Linked DNA regions of Homo sapiens: regions 2 and 3 are each linked to region 1. The links are contacts of gene promoters, found by promoter capture Hi-C in blood cells and fetal thymus (Javierre and others, 2016). All regions are on one chromosome and are shown on one strand. Each heading gives the region's core, a stretch centred on a gene start or on the middle of the fragment in contact. The rest is flanking DNA. Distances are from core to core; before and after follow the strand shown. Region 1 holds the start of UHRF2 (ubiquitin like with PHD and ring finger domains 2). Region 2 has its middle 30 kb from the start of RANBP6. Region 3 holds the start of LOC124902117 (a long non-coding RNA gene).

Region 1 (3,085 bases), core at 207-2,706:
ATTAGTTTATTACAAAAAAATGGTACTGTACCTTTATGGGAATAATTAGCACCTATGTGAATATTTAAGTTACCGATTTTGGCAAATGTGAAGTCCAAGTTGTCTTGTTTTGTTTACGTTTATATCCTCTCTCCCTTCTTGAGAAGACATATTTTCATTTAAAATAAACCCACTTGGCCGGGCGCGGTGGCTCACGCCTGTAATCCCAGCACTTTGGAAGGCCGAGGCGGGTGGATCACGAGGTCAGGAGATCGAGACTATTAGCCGGGCGCGGTGGCGGGCGCCTGTAGTCCCAGCTACCCCAGGGAGGCTGAGGCAGGAGAATGGCGTGAACCCGGGAGGCGGAGCTTGCAGTGAGCCGAGATCGCGCCACTGCACTCCAGCCTGGGCGACAGAGAGAGATTCCGTCTCTAAATACATACATACATACATACATACATACATAATAAATAAAATAAAATAAACCCACTCACCCCCACCCCGACTCCCCAGCTGTAGCAGGGAAGGATTAAGAAGGCGGGGTGGGGGGTGGGGGAAGCCCTGTTAGGTAGTGCTGCGTTGGGCCCACTTCTGAGGGTTTAATCCTAGTAGGGTCTTTGGAGTTCTTTCTTCGGAGGCGCGTAGCTCTGCATTATTTAAAACTGTTTCCCGCAAACCCGCAATCCCTTAGGCCAAAGGCACCCCTAACGCGGAAAGTCTACGAACGGAAATGTCCGGAGTTAGAGAGCGGCCTTTCGGGCAGCTGCCCCGACTTCTCCAAGGCCGGAGGGCCGGCTGGGAGCGCTGCAAGCCAGAGAGGGCGATCCCAGCGGGACCCGCGGCCTGAGGATAGGCCTGGAGCTGCCGCCTCCGCCAGGCGACGGGAAACCCTCGGAAGTGGGTTTCCGCGCGAAAGTAGCATTGCGGCCAGGCGGGAAACGTGTTCGCGAAGCAGGAGGGCCCCCGGGGCCTTTCCCGGGCGACCCGACCCGCCAGGCCGCGTGGCGGGAGCTTTCCTGTTGAGCGCGGTGGAGCGCACACATTTCCTTCAGTTCTTTCTCGGAAGTTTAGGCCGCACCCACCCGCGCCCCCTTTCCAGGATTATACAAGTGCACGCCAGGGTTTCTTATTTTTGGTGTGTTTTTGAGACCAAAGAACCATATCCGCTAAGCCTGAGGAGGCACCCGCCCCCTCAGCTCTGAAACGAGGCCTCAAAACGGCAACCGATGTGGTAGCCGCGCAATCTTCCGAAACCCAAAGGCTAGAGGGCGTGCCCAGTGGCCAGGTGCAGGCGGTGGGGCAAGTAACGGCTTTTGGTAGCCCCGCCCCTCCGACCCGCCCTCTCCGCGCCTGCCCATTTTCGTTCCCTCGGGTCTGTAACCCTCTCCCGGGCCGCTTCCTCTTTAAGGCGGAGCCCGGCGTGGATCTCGCGAGATCCGGCTTGGCGCCGTGACCTCCATGTGGGAGCTCCAGCTCTATAAGTAAACACTCTGCGCGGCGCAGACATGGCCTCTTCCTATCTTTGAGGCGGTGTCTGCGGCAGCGCCTCAGAGTGGTTCCGGTCGTCTCTCCTCAAGTCGGCTAGTCGGGCGCGCGCGCTGAGAGTCGTCGCCGCCTGTCGGGCCCGGCGTCCGGTCGGTCCGGTGGGCGCGCTCGCCCGCCTGCCGCTGAGGGCCCGAGCCGCAGGGAAAGCGGCGCGGGCCGGGCGGGGCGCGGCGCCCAGAGCTCAGGGGGAGACAAAGGGGACCGGTTCCTCTCTAGGCGCCAAGATGTGGATACAGGTTCGCACCATTGATGGCTCCAAGACGTGCACCATTGAGGACGTGTCTCGCAAAGCCACGATTGAGGAGCTGCGCGAGCGGGTGTGGGCGCTGTTCGACGTGCGGCCCGAATGCCAGCGCCTCTTCTACCGGGGCAAGCAGGTGAGGCGCGCCCGCCGCGCCCCTAGCGAGGCTGGGGGCCGGAACAGCTGGGCTCCTCTGGACGCACCGGTCCGAGGGCTCTGTGCGCCGCGCGCGCAGGGCTCACCTGGCTCCGCTGCGGGTGGGCAGCCCCCGCGAGGCGCGGGGTGCGGGGCCCAGTCCCGCCGAATGGTGGGGAGTGGGTCCCTGCCAGCCCCAACTGGAGGTGCGCCGCGCGGGGTCAGAAGTGAGGGCGTCCGGAGCGCAAATATCTCGCCGTTTGTATTTGGTAGGACAGCGGCCGTAGGCACTGGGTGCCCAGGTCCCTCGCTTCCCGCGCTCGGCGGGGCCTGGGGCCCCCAGAGGGCGGGGAGGGCAGAGGGCTCTGGCGGCCATGCCACCGCGCGGGAGACCCGGAGAGCTGGCTAACCCGGCTGAGCGTTCGCCTGGCTTCCGCGGCTCTTCCGCGTCTTCGGCTCTCAAACAGGGGAAACTCGGGCATTGAGCTCTCAAGAATAAGAACCCTAACTCTGCTTCCTGACTGTGGTAGGATTCGCGCAAACTGAAGATTCGAAGGGTTTCCAGAACTTCTGGTCCCTCTCCCTCGCCGCCTTTCCTAGGTTTGGAATGTCTCGAGGGAGGTTAGAGACCTGGGCATGAAGAAACTGTCGGTTTAACCGGGGGCCGGGTTTACGAATGCCCTATATAAGCCAAGAGTTTTATTCCCGAAGTGAAAAGGAGTGTAAGACTGTTTGCTTTTCTTACTTCTCGCCTTCTAATACTCATGTCGTTCACGCTTTAAGCATAGCACTGCAGCATAGCCAGCGGTGCATACTTGAAGGCTGTCTGTGGGCATCTCTGGTATTTTTATGGTCTGGCCAGTCTAAGTTTTTTTCCTATTCCACAAGTCTCTTACAATCTATATCCCTAGCCACTCAGACCCATCGTATTTTTCTTTGTCTTCATGTTGTTGTTAATACACTAAAAAGTTGGCATCCTGAGTTGATAGACCACAGTTTGGCTCCAATCCTGTGGTTTTAAATAAGTGTAGCTCTTTGATTTGGTAGAAGTAGCCTACAGTTGCAAACTACTTAAAAGGAATATTTTCCTCCCCTTCACAGGCTTAGTCTTCGAAGACTGTCCAGAAATTTCATAGTAACAAATTACACTTTGGGAAGGAGAGAGCTTTTTTTTCCCCTTTCCTT
Region 2 (3,085 bases), core at 181-2,680, 370 kb before region 1:
TTTTTTTGCTTTTGTTTTTTTTTAAATAACCGAATTCAGCTCTGAATGCTTTCAGGGTTAAACATTCTTTATGAGTTTCTTAGTTATAGAGAGTCTTTTTATGATGGCTTTCTCAGATGCTGGGTGTAGTAGCAATATGCATGGTGTGTGAGCAGATTCACTGTCTCCTGTGGGAATGGCAGAGGCCTCTTGAAGCTTATCTCACTCCCCAGTGGTGTGCACTTTTTATTTATTTATTTTTCCCCCAGTATTTCATTTACTGGGTTGAACAGTTCAGGCTTCAGGCCAGTAGAGCAGGTGTCCATGGTTAAACATTGGCTGTGGCTAAAGCAGTTGGGTAAACGCAATACCCAATGGTGGGCAGAGGTCCCAGCCTTGACAGAAATGGCTGGGGGAGTTCTCAGTGAAACACACTGAGGTCTTATCAGGAGGAAAAGTGGGAGCCACCTCAGCTTCCCTGCCAGTCCAGCAGGAAAGCTATCCACTTTCCAGTCAAACTCCTGACCCAGTGTTCTGGCTATTCAGATCAGACAGGCACCTCTTTTCATTTGCAGGAATGTTGATATTCCATGTAGAGAGGGATGGTGATCTCTATTCCTCATGCAAGTCTGAACCTGGAGGGTACTCCTTCTGTGGGGATGCAGTCACCCTAAAGTGTTCCCAAAAGGCTGTCTACTGTTTGCACCCATGCTGAGCTCCTATGGGAGAAGCCCCAGCTGTGTCTGCAGTGGTGGGTGAGGGGAAGAAGAAATCCCCTTCTCCAAGACCCTTCATGAGCACCAGGGCTGCCTGTTGGGTAGAGTCATAGACTTTCCCCCACTGGGCTCAGCACTGCATCTGTACCTCTGCTGAAATAAACTTCCCACAAGAAGAAAGTCCTGGGACTCAAGGTTTGCCACCTGGATTCTTTTGTCCCATGGGGGTACTCCCTTGATAAGGTATACCCCCCTTTCCCCAGGAGTAGGAGTCCCTGAAGGCCAGACTACTGTGAATGCTGCTGCTCCTCTGTGTCTAGCTGTCCAGTTGGGCTGCCATCCTCCAGGCCGGTGCTAAGGAATGTCTGCAAGGGATCCAATGATGTGACCTGTCCTCAAGTCTCCCAGCAGTGGGTACCAGCACCAGATCAGATAGAGGTGGCTGGGGAGTGATGTAGACTCTGTGAGATTCTTTGGTTATAAATAGCCTTGGTGTGTTGGCTTTCTCAAATGCCAGCTGTAGTAGTAATGAACTGGTCACACGGACAGACTTAGGACCTCCTGGTTAGTAGGGTAATGAAAGCAATTGTGATAGCTGAGGTCATGCACAAGTTTTCGCCTTCCTGAGCACTGTGTTCTTCTGCCTGAAGATGCTGTAGTGGCTGTATCAGCTGGCCTCCATCTTTGATCGTTTCATCACATCACTTCCTAAAAAATGTGCTCATGTGCCAAGCTACCTCTCTTCCTTCATTCACGTATTTCCTGAAATGTGACCTTCGTTTGTGCTTGCCTTCTGTTACCCAGGGGAAGTACTCTGGTATCTCAGGCAATGAGCAGGGCCATAGGGCTCCCCAAAGTTTCTGTCCTTTGTGTTAGGTGATTAGCTCTGGTGGAGGGGCAAAGCCAGGTAGAGGCTGGTTCTTGGTGTGCAGACGCAAGCAGTGGCCCCAGTGGGGATCAGAGCAGTTCTCTGGCTGCTGGAGCACTGTTCCATGAGGGAGTACAGCTGCTTCTGCTGAATAGAAGAGTCTACAAGGGGAGTGGGGAGCAGCAGGTGGCAGTAAGCCGCACCTAGTTTCCATGCACTTGGCAAGGCAGGTCTCGCACCTGGAATGTTCCACTAGCAGCAGCTCACTGGGTTTAAGGCCTATGATCAGAACTCAAAACTGCCGCAGACCATAAGCCTTCTCCATGGAGGCAGATATTGAGGCTTTCAGGCCACACTCCTCCTGGTCTGCCCAAGAAGCAGGGGCACGCAGCTCCTGCTTAATCTCCATTGGGAGCTTCTCTCGTCCTGTGACTGCTGCCTGAATTAGCTGGCTGACTTCTAAAGTGAAGTACCCTGTGAGGCAGGATCAAGAATGGCTTCCCTCTGTCCCCACTGGAGACTGGGAGTGCACACACAGCATGTCCCAATGCTACTCCTTCTCATATGCTCCCCACCGTTCACTGCATTAGCTCTAGCACTGGGTAGGGTTAAAACCTTCCCTTGTGGCCTGGATTGCCAGGTTCTCCGGTGGAAATGTATATCCCAGAGGCAGCTTCTCCCTGCTCACACTCTGGGGATTTTCAGGTTTACGCCTGGCTCATGGTGTAGGCTGCAGCCTGCCGCTTCTTTCAAAGGGTCTGGTTTCCATCAGTTTTCCTGTTAAGTTCCTGTGTTGCTTCTTGAAATAAAGTTCACAGTGTGAATCTCTACACACAATTTTGTCTTTCCAACTGGGAGAGGCATGCTAATGATGCCTCCAATCCGCCATCTTGGAAAAAACACCCACGATACTTTAAGACATGTTGAAATGTTTATATGGAAAAAAGAGGATACACAATATGTACACACTATATATACTTTGTATAAAAATATGGCTTTATGTTCATTGGTTTTTTTTTTGTTTTCATATAAAGTTTCTTAAGAGCTCTGATTTGTTTTAAAGATGTTGCTTTGATTTACATAACAATTCAGTGCAATATTCTAAGCTTGTGGCATTTACTCGATCTTTACCCCTGTTTTTTTTTAATGGAGAAAATGATGTATCATTAAAAATAAAGAAAATGTGATAGAGATGTCATAATGGCTGGACCAATGAATATGCTCCTACTCATATACTCCCCACCACTCATTAAATTAGTTCTAGCACTGGATAGGGTTAACACCTACTTAACTCTTTGAGAATAATAAAAGACCTTTTCGATTAGCATCATCACAAGTGATTCATTGACTGTGGGTCAGAACATTTCCTACTCTCAAAGAAGTTAACTTGTCTGAAGTCATACAATTAGAAAGCAGCAGAAGAAGACCGGAACTTAGCCTTTCTGGCTCTCAAGCTGTCCCTGGTGTGGGAACGGGATGCAAAGTACAAATGGAAAGGATAGATCATGAAGGAAAAAATGGA
Region 3 (3,085 bases), core at 422-2,921, 300 kb after region 1:
CTGTAGTCCCAGCTACTCGGGAGGCTGAGACAGGGGAAATGCTTGAACCTGGGAGGCAGAGGTTGCAATGAGCCAAGATCGCCCCGCTGGAGCGCCGCTGCACTCCAGCCTGGGCGATTGAGCAAGACTCCTTCTCAAAAAAAAAAGTGTTTCCAGGAAGTGTTTCCAGGTTGGGTGCGGTGGCTCACGTCTGTAATCCCAACACTTTGAGAGGCCGAGGCGGGCGGATCACTTGAGGCCAGGAGTTCGGGACCAACCTGGACATAGGGAAACCCCGTCTCTACCAAAAAATGCAAAAATTAGCTGGGCGTGGTGGCACATGCCTATAATCCCAGCTACTCAGGAGGCTGAGGCACGAGAATCACTTGAACCCAGGAGGCTGCGGTTGCAGTAAGCCGAGATGGCGCCACTGCACTCCAGCCTGGGCGACAGCGAAATTCTATCTCAAAAAATAAAATAAAATAAAAAGCCGAAGGTCTTCAGAGCACCTAGGACCAGCGGAGGTTAAAGCTTATCTACAACAGCTTGCAGCAAGCTTGCTTTGGTAAACAGTCTGGGGCCAGGAGGTACCCACAGTCCTAGTTACGCCAAATTCAGGCCGAAGGGCGACCTGTCTCCGTGCTCCTGACAAACTTCCAGCCCCCGTTTCCCATCAGAGCCTCGTCCAGGTGTTCCCATTTAAAGGCTCCACCTGCGCAGGGCGGGTGCCACACAATGAGGAGAGTTTTGCAAACAAACGCGGCCGTTGCTCCAAGGTCTCGGGTAACCGATTGGCAAAACCTAGGTCTTCCCACTTAGGGAAGATGGCCCAAGAGCAAGAAGGCGAAACAAGAGGCCGCCGGACCCGCGAAGCCCCGAGCTCAGAGGTCGCCCAGTGCTCGGCCCCGCCTCTGACGTCACGGCTCGGTGGGACTCCCGGAGCCCGGATGCGCGCTGGGACTCGGTGCAGTCCAGCTCCACGGTCGCGCGTCCCACAGCTCCCTTCACGTCCGTTCCTCCGTTTCCCCACCTTGGGAGGGCCAGGACTTCCGAGGCTTTAGGGGGCAGGAAGCTGCGAGAAGGTGGCGCTTGCTTAGGTGAGGCGCGGAGGATGGTATTAGAGAGAGGAACGTGACTGGAAGCTCCCTGGCCATGGACGATCGCTGGGTTCTAGGCGCCTGCTCGCCCCAGCGGTTGACGGTCACGTGATACCCCCCAGTGTACCTTTCCTGCAGCGTGTTACGTGGCGCACAGAGAACGTCGCTTCCAGAGGACCGTTTTTTCGTAACTGGCAGTAGTAATCTGGCGGTTGACACTCTCGTTGCCTGTATAGGCTGATGGCCCACTCACCTTTTTAGCTGGGCTCCTGACCTGTCCGGCCAGAAAGTTGCCACTGGGGTAAGGTGGATGGCGTGGGGGAATAGGGAAGGGCCTCAGCACAGTTTCTGAACACTTCTTCCACACCGGATTCCGGAGGCCGCAGATAGGGAAAGCAAGGGCCAGTAGGGCAGTTTTCTCTTGTGTTCCCTATTCTTGTTGAGACTGTGAGGATGGTGGAGTGACCCTCTGGCTGACCTTTGTCCCTCCTGCCAAGACTTTTTCTTGCAGGACTATTCCCCACCCAGTGGGTGAGTTTGCTTACTTGGTGGGTGACAGTACCGTGACCACAACCAAGGATTTGACAAGGGGATGTTATTACTTGCAACAAGTAAGGAAACACTGGGGGTAATTCTTAAAGCGGTGCCTCCCTGAACAAAGGTGAAAACAGTGCTTTTATTAGTCGTATGTAGAGGTGGAGCAAAAGCCGTGCTGGTGCAGTTTTCTATCATGTTTCTACATACCTCGCATGCATAGAAAATAGCAAATAAGGCCGGGCGCAGTGGCTCATGCCTGTAATCCCAGCACTTTGGAAGGCTGAGGCAGGCGGATCACCTGAGGTCGGGAGTTCGAGACCAAACTGACCAACATGGGGAGAAACCCTGTCTCCACTAAAAATACAAAAGTAGCCGGGCATAGTGGCGCATGCCTGTAATCACAGCTACTCGGGAGGCTGAGGCAGGAGAATCGCTTCAACCCGGGAGGCGGAAGTTGCTGTGAGCCGAGACTGCGCCATTGCACTCCAGCCTTGGCAACAAGAGCGAAACTGCACCTCAGAAAAGAAAAAAAAAAAGAAAGAGAGAGAGAGAGAAAGAAAGAAGGGAAAGGAAAGGAGAGGGAAGGGGAGGGGAGGAAAAGAGGGACGGGACGCAGTGGCTCACACCTGTAATCCCAGCACTTTGGGAGGCTGATGAGGGAGGGTCGCTAGAGGCCAGGAGCCCAAGACCAGCCTAGGCAACATAGGGAGACCCAGCCGATATTGAAAAAAAATAGAGAGAGAAAGAAAATGGCGAAAAAGAAGCTCCTCCCTATGAGACAGGGCAGGGACCCCCTCTTAAAGGCTTGCTGAGTATCTAAGCATAGAAATAAAAAAAAGTCTTGAGTTCTTTCAAGAGAAATTACCAGCACATAGCTAGCCCTGAGAGTAAATAAGTAACTTAATAAAAAGTTAATAGTAGCTTAAAATGATAGCCAAGGAAGTTAAAATCATGGGGTATTTGGTTTTGTGTAGAAATGGAAGATAACATTTTAACATAGGTCTTTCAATTGTTTTTCAGAAACCTGGACCCCTACTGAATGGATCTGCTGGCACCTAGACCTCAGAGAAGGGGGAACTGAAGACTGAAGTCTGACCACTGTTCTTTGTTGAAAATTTCTTTCTCAGGGGCTTGGAGGGATCACATCTACAATCCTGAGCTAATATTCTCTTCTGCTGTCCCCAAAATTTAAACGAAGCTTCTCTTAACCCATTGCAAATGAGAAAAATCTTTGAATCTACCTATGACTATAAGCCCTTATTTCAAGATATCCTGCCTTTTTAGGCCAGAACCAAAGTGTAACCTCCATCTATTGATTTACAATTTTGCCTGTAACTTTGGCTTTCCTGAAATTTACCCCAGCCTTAAAAAAAAAAAAGAACAGAAAAAGAAAACTGCAAGGCATCAGGGAGGTCAGAATTTGGGCATGAGCTGCCTGATCCTCCTTGCTTTGCATCTTTGCAAATAGATGC

Evidence for each region. The method cuts DNA at HindIII sites, captures the fragments that hold promoters and counts their contacts. A CHiCAGO score of 5 or more calls a contact.
Region 2: a fragment that was not itself captured here is called in contact with the fragment with the promoter of UHRF2 in region 1 in 1 of 17 cell types (monocytes); the score reaches 5.0 in monocytes.
Region 3: a fragment that was not itself captured here is called in contact with the fragment with the promoter of UHRF2 in region 1 in 1 of 17 cell types (non-activated CD4 T cells); the score reaches 5.2 in non-activated CD4 T cells.

Annotation. Positions count from the first base shown.
Region 1 is chr9:6,411,743-6,414,827 of GRCh38, forward strand. UHRF2 (ubiquitin like with PHD and ring finger domains 2) reads left to right here and starts at 1,457. Exons shown (of 16, transcript NM_152896.3): 1 at 1,457-1,901. The coding sequence starts at 1,749. RefSeq lists silencers at 1,175-1,314, 1,595-1,774, 1,845-2,274. The HindIII fragment of the contact is 4,095 bases long and covers 1-3,085 here.
Region 2 is chr9:6,044,377-6,047,461 of GRCh38, forward strand. No RefSeq gene overlaps it. Among named protein-coding and RNA genes, the nearest start is that of RANBP6, 30 kb to the left of the region's middle. The HindIII fragment of the contact is 2,474 bases long and covers 194-2,667 here.
Region 3 is chr9:6,715,240-6,718,324 of GRCh38, forward strand. LOC124902117 (a long non-coding RNA gene) reads left to right here and starts at 943. Exons shown (of 4, transcript XR_007061412.1): 1 at 943-1,377; 2 at 2,634-3,085. RefSeq lists an enhancer at 1,054-1,273. The HindIII fragment of the contact is 2,276 bases long and covers 534-2,809 here.